2 separate regions of the Homo sapiens genome follow, and region 1 is linked to region 2. The links are contacts of gene promoters, found by promoter capture Hi-C in human tissues and cell types (Jung and others, 2019). All regions are on one chromosome and are shown on one strand. Each heading gives the region's core, a stretch centred on a gene start or on the middle of the fragment in contact. The rest is flanking DNA. Distances are from core to core; before and after follow the strand shown.

Region 1 (3,266 bases), core at 418-2,917, 160 kb after region 2:
TTCAACTTTAAATTGGGTGTAAGTATAAATTCCAGTTTGGTGTTTTGGTCACTTTGATGTACATTTCACATGAAGTTTATTACAGACACTATATCAAGAAGTATATTAATATTCTGTGAGTGCCTTAATAAGATTTTAGTGTGGCTGAGGTAGAGATCTGGTTATATTTGCCCTAAATTTGTTTCAGGCTAGAATTAATTCAGTTGCAAGGAACAGAACTTTAGGAAATCAACTACTCATTTCTTTATGTCCTAGAGTGGATTAAAAAGGATTTTCTGAGGAAGATTCTAGGCCTGCCTTTAGGAACTTCCACTGCCTGCCTCAGGACAAGGGGAAACATGGGCTTATATTTAGGTATTAGGTTCCTTCATTCTGATAAAAATACGAATGCACCATGAGTGCTGTTAAGACAACTAGGTCTGTATTTAGCTGGCAACATAATACATTTTTGGGCTGCTGCTTTTATATATGTATGTATGTATGTATGTGTGTATATATATACATATATATGTATATATATACACATATATGTGTGTGTGTGTGTGTGTATATATATATATATATTTTTTTTTTTTTTCCTTTTTGAGATGGAGTCTCAGTTTGTGGCCCAGGCTGGAGTGCAGTGGCGCAATCTCGGCTCACTGCAACCTCTGCCTCCCAGTTCAAGCGATTCTCCTGCCTCAGCCTCCTGAGTAGCTGGGATTACAGGCATGCATCAACACGCCTGGCTAATTTTTGTATTTTGAGTAGAGATGGAGTTTCACCATGTTGGCCAGGCTGGTCTTGGAACTCCTGACCTCACGTGATCCTCCCACCTTGGCCTCTGAACATGCTGGGATTACAAGCGTGAGCCACCGTGCCTGGTCTGCTACCAATATTTATTAACAGATCAACATTCAAGAATAACCAGTTTAAGAATTAACAGCCCATTCATTCTCCAGATATTCCAAAATATAACCTTAGACCACACTTAGCAGTAAGATGGTTATCTAAACAACAACATCCTGTTGCCCACTGTGCACCTTCAATTTTGGCAAAACTGCTTTTGCTGAAATACATTTTCATGCAATGCCACCAACTTATATTGAAGGTACTACAATTCATTCAACAAACACTTATTTGAATGCCTACTGTGAGATGAATGAACTTAACATTATATCCTCTTTATGAAGGTCGTTAGGATAAAAGTCTGTCTGATCTTAAGGCCAAGAACAGTTGCGATTCACCTGAACAACTGAGTTCTTTTGATGGAAGGAAGCTGAGTTTTACATTCTTTCTTTTTAAATCTGGCTGCTACAAAGCTTATGGTGGTCCTTGTGAAACACTAGTAACAGGAGTGCTGGCATTATGGTATGCATTTTTACATTTCTTTTTTGGCTCTATTTTGTCTCCACTCATACTTTTAGTTTTCTTTGGCCCCATTTTATTTTTCCTTGAAGTAACTTGCAAAAGTTAGTACATGCTCTGAAATCGGGCAGTGAAGAGCACAAATAAACAATTGTAGGAAGCAAAATGGAGGGGAGAGCAGATCAGTTTATTGAAAGTTATACTCGTTCATCCATTTGCATTCTGATACCTGAGGACACTGTGAATTACTGGAGGAGAAAAGCAAATTGGAATTTTTAACCTTAACATTATTTTTTTCTCAGCTCCAGAAAGGAGTGAAAAAATGAAAAAATAATAAAATTTTAATTTATAAAAAATTTTAAAAAGAAAGTTTTTTGATAATTCTACTATTGAAAGTGAGTACAATGAAGCGGGGACTCACTGGTTCAAGGTAAACATTACATGGTTAAAGTTAGGTTAAGTTAAATATGTGTTCCTAGAAAACTTACAGTGGTTTTATAAATTGAACATTTAATAGTGAATTGATGAAATTCTTAAATATATAAAAAAACTTGTCTACACACGCTGCAATGGACAAAATCATTCCCTACGTCATCTAACAAGTTCAGGCTTCTGTGTATGATGTTTTCTTCAAGTAGGACGAGTTATGGAATGACAAAAAGGGTAGCTCAAAAGTTAATCAACATATTACACACAATTAGAACATCATGACAATTGTGAACCATAGTGACACTTGTTCTGGTGAACCATGGTCTAACTACAATTATATGCACTTAGAATGAAGGGCATCACAATCATATCAAGTATAGTTCTTATTAAAGAACTCAGCATCTCTGCAGGCTTACTAACCTGATGTTGTCTTCCTAGAGTAGGTTTGGGTATACGTAAATGAACTGCCCTCATTACCTAAGAAAGCATTGGTAGGTGCTTGCCTTTACAAAAAAGGAACTAGTTACTCTTGAGTTATAATACAAATGACCAAAAACTAACTCAAGAAAATCTAAATAGCCTTTTTTGGACAATGTTAAGACAGAAACTGTTACTAGAGATAAAGAGGAACATTTTATAAAAGTCAAGAAATAGATAACAATTATAAGCATACAGAAAGTGAAAAGACAAACCCAGAGGCACTTATAACAAAAACCCATTTTCACAATAAAGAAAGAACACTCAAAATTCAACAAGAAAAAGAAAACCCAATTTAAAAATGGACAGAAGAGTTGAAAAGACACCAAAGAAGAGACATAGATGGCAAATGGGCACATGAAAAGATGCTCAACATCAGTAGGCATTAAGAAAATGCAAACCAAAATTATAATGAGATACCACTTCATACCCACCAGAACAGTAGAATAGCTATAATCATAAAGATAGATAATAACAAGTGTTGGTGAAGAAGTGGAGAAATTGGAAACCTCATACATTGCTAGTGGGAATGTACAATAGCATAGCTGCCTTGGAAAACAGAAGCATTTCTTAAAATGTTAAGACTAAGAGTTACCATTAGACCCAGCAATTCTGCTACTAGGTATCTGCTTGAGGGCAATAAATATGTTATGTCTGCACAGAAACTTGTACACAAATGTTCACAGTAACATTATTCATAAAAGCCAAAAAAGGGAAACAACCCAAACGTCTATCAGCCAATGAATGGAAAAACAAAAAGTATTATTCAGTAATAAAAAGGAATGAAATACTGATAACATGCTACAACACAGATAAACTTCAAAAACATGCTAAGTGAAAGAAGCCAGTAACAAAAGGTCACATACTGTATGACACCACTTATACGAGAGGTCCAGAATAGGCAAATCTATAGAGATAAAAGGTAGATTCATGGTTGCCTAGGGCTGGCGGGCAGGGAAAGAGGAATGGGAATGACTGCTAACTGGTACAAATTTTCTTTTGGGATGATAATG
Region 2 (3,319 bases), core at 387-2,886:
ATGGTGAGACCCCATCTCTACTAAAAATACAAAAAATTAGCTGGGTGTGGTGGCGGGTGCCTGTAATCCCAGCTACTCGGGAGGCTGAGGCAGGAGAATCGCTTGAACCTGGGGGGCAGAGGTTGCAGTGAGCCGAGATCGTGCCACTGCACTCCAGCCTGGTGACAGAGCAACACTCTGTAAAGAAGCAGACAGTGCAGAGAAGGATGAACTCTTGGCATGAGTGAAGTGTAATATCGGCAATCTGTTTGTGTACCCTTCTTTTTTTTTTTTTTTTTTTTTTTTTTTGAGACAGGGTCTCACTCTGTTGCCCAGGCTGGAGTGTAGTGACCCAATCTCGGCTCACTGCAACTTTCACTTCCCGGGTTCAAGTTATTCTCATGCCTACAAGTGGCTGGGATTACAGGCGCCCACCACCACGCCTGGCTAATTTTTGTATTTTTAGTAGAGACAGGGTTTCACCATGTTGGCCAGGCTGGTCTCGAACTCCTGACCTCAAGTGATCCGCCGGTCTTGGCCTCCCAAAGTGCTGGGATTACAGGTGCGAGCCACTGTGCCCGGCCTCGTGTATCCTTTTAATGAGGCCGAGCGGTGACAAGACTGTGGATGGCATTGGGGCCAGGGACCAGAACAGGGAGAGCCTGGGAGGAACCCCTCCAGCCCCCCGCAAAGCTCAAGCACCGGATACTAAAGAAGAATGGTAGATGGGGCCTCACGATGTGCAGGGGGAAGGGAACTGGCTTAACTGGATGGTCCCCTGTCCGAGCACTGGGCTAGGCCTTTTGTGTGCATAGTATCGTCTGCTGTTACCAAGAAATTAGTTATGCTTATCATCTGCATTTTACAGAAGAGGAGAACAAGGCTCAGAGAGGTTGATGACACCTGCCCAAGTTACCCAGATGGTAGGTGGCAGAGCTGGGATTTGAGATTCAGATAAGGCCTGGGACGCTCCCTGGCTGCCCACCGAGAGCAGGAATTTCTGTAGCATCTAGAAAGGCAGGAAGGTGAAAGAGGGGACAAGAGCTGGAGGGGGAGCAAATGGGTCCTACCTGAGACTTACCATCATCAGGTGCTGCCAGACCTGGCTTCTCTTCTATTCTGAGAACTGATATCCTGTGGCTGACTTACCAGGGTCGTCCTAGTCCCCCCGCACGGTATTGGGAGTGGAGGCAGCCCCACACGGAGGCGCTGGGAGACTTTCCTCCCAGCAGTGTCCTGTCACTGCATTCCGGCCCCTGCGTTTGTAGGCAGTGATGTCACAGAGTGCCTTCATGCTCCTCGGGTCTCCGGTTCTCCCCGGACCTCTGTAGTCCTCATTGCCAAAGTTGTACCCCCTGGGGAGTGCACCCTGCCTGCATTTCTGGAGGTTCGGGCGGTTCCGGGGCTCTGCAGGAGCCTCCAGGCGTGATAAAGAGCGCTGCCGGCACTCCCGGGGTCTCGGCCTCTTTGGGGCCCATTGCCAAGCCCCTTCCCTCCTCGTGCTCCCGCTCCGCGTTGCAGCGTCCCCTTCGCCGCCAGGGGCCGCCCGGAAGCGGGGCTCCCCCAGGGCGGGGCGGGGCAAGGGGCGGGGCGCGGCGGTACCTGGGCCGCCAGGGAGCCGGGGGTGGGCTCTCCGGGGACAGCCGGCAGCGCCCCCAGATCTGCACCGCCAGCCGCCGGGAGCTCCGGGCTCCGGGCGTAGAGGCTGCGCTGTCACATGGGCGGCGGCGACGGGGCCGCATTTAAGCGGCCGGGGGACGGCGCCCGCCTCCAGCGCGTCCTCGGGCTTGGCTCCCGCCGGGAGCCCCGTTCTCTGCCCGCCGGGGGCCCCGCGCCGCGCCGCACCGCGCCGCCCCCGCCGGGCCATGCGAGCGCGGGCCCCGCCGCGATGAGCTCGCACATCGCCAAAAGCGAGTCCAAGACGTCGCTGCTGAAGGCGGCGGCGGCGGCGGCGAGCGGGGGCAGCCGGGCTCCCCGCCACGGCCCTGCCCGGGACCCGGGGCTGCCTAGCCGCCGGCTACCCGGCTCCTGCCCGGCGACGCCGCAGTCGTCCGGGGACCCCAGTTCGCGGAGGCCCCTGTGCCGGCCGGCGCCGCGAGAGGAGGGCGCGCGGGGGAGCCAGCGTGTGCTCCCCCAGGCGCACTGCAGGCCCCGGGAGGCGCTGCCGGCCGCGGCGTCCCGACCTTCGCCGTCGTCGCCGCTGCCGCCGGCCCGCGGGCGGGATGGGGAGGAACGGGGACTGTCCCCGGCGCTCGGCCTCCGGGGCTCTCTGCGAGCCCGGGGCCGCGGGGACTCCGTTCCAGCCGCCGCGTCCGAGGCGGACCCGTTCCTCCACCGGCTGCGCCCCATGCTCAGCTCCGCCTTTGGCCAGGTAAGGGCCGCGCCTCCCGTCAGCGCTCCCGGGAAAGGCGCTCGGGACCCTGCCGGCCGCGGTTGCGCGTCCACAGCCTCCTCCCGCGGCCCGTGGTCCCCCACGGATCACGCCTCGGCTCACCTCGTCCTCCCCGGGCCGGCGCCCTTGCCGGCACTCCTCCTCCCCGTGCCTGATTCAGCACCCCGTGCGCTGTCCACGCTCCGGGCCTCTTGGGGCAAGGCCCTCCCCGCTAGCCTCCCTCATACCCGCCAGAACCCGCCAGTCCTGGAAGAGAGCGACCTCTACGACCGTCCTGGAGATTTGCGGGGGTCAAGGAGGGGCGCTCCGAGCAGGTGGCGCCAAACCCACTCCTCTGGCCTCTGGCCAGTACCGCCAGGGAGGGACTCAGGAGAGCAAGCGGTTTGGAGTCTGGGGGTCAAGAGAGGGGACCTCAGAGAACACAGAATTACTTGAGGGCGAGGGACACTGGCCACTGCCTATCATGTCCCTGAAGGCCTGAGAAAAGTTAGGAGATCCAAAAATATGAGGAAAGAGAAGAGGTGTCTGGGTAGGCATGGAGGGGCATGCAGAGCTGTGGCTCAAACTGGAACTTTGGGGTGGTTTAAGGAGGCTGTCACTCTAGGGATGCCATTGGAAGGGTGAGAAAGGCCACAAAGAGGTCATCAGTGGTTCCCTCAGGCCTTTCCCTCAAGAGTCCCAGGCACCTGGGAGCCTGCCCTTTAAAAGCAGCTCCGTAGTCACAATATAGGTCTACAGTTTGAGGCTGTGCTGCTGGGGAAACAGGCTCAGTAGAAGGAAACCTCTGAACTCCTGAGCAAAAAAGCCAGGGTTTCCCCTAGTTCGGAGTCTGTAATCAAGTCAAACTCATTGGCACAGCTTTGAGACAGTTCTGTGGCAGCCTCCGAGAGGTGTCATGCAGAGGTCTGATTAGAGCGTTTGCGTGGTTTGTAGGGAAACAGGGGGGGC

What was found. Contacts are between HindIII fragments. The study calls those that stand out against the background at their distance.
Region 1: a contact is called between a fragment that was not itself captured here and the fragment with the promoter of CABP1 in region 2, in 5 of the 25 tissues and cell types used here (adrenal gland, pancreas, small bowel and 2 more).

Annotation. Positions count from the first base shown.
Region 1 is chr12:120,801,869-120,805,134 of GRCh38, forward strand. The region is part of intron 2 of SPPL3 (signal peptide peptidase like 3); the gene reads right to left. Among named protein-coding and RNA genes, the nearest start is that of ACADS, 78 kb to the left of the region's middle. The HindIII fragment of the contact is 8,897 bases long and covers 1-3,266 here.
Region 2 is chr12:120,638,990-120,642,308 of GRCh38, forward strand. It overlaps CABP1 (calcium binding protein 1), which reads left to right and starts at 1,637. Exons shown (of 6, transcript NM_001033677.2): 1 at 1,637-2,350. The coding sequence starts at 1,697. CABP1-DT (CABP1 divergent transcript) reads right to left here and starts at 1,533. Exons shown (of 2, transcript NR_183426.1): 1 at 1,061-1,533. RefSeq lists an enhancer at 1-25 and silencers at 1,497-1,796, 2,017-2,116, 2,127-2,296, 2,517-2,616. The HindIII fragment of the contact is 37,846 bases long and covers 1-3,319 here.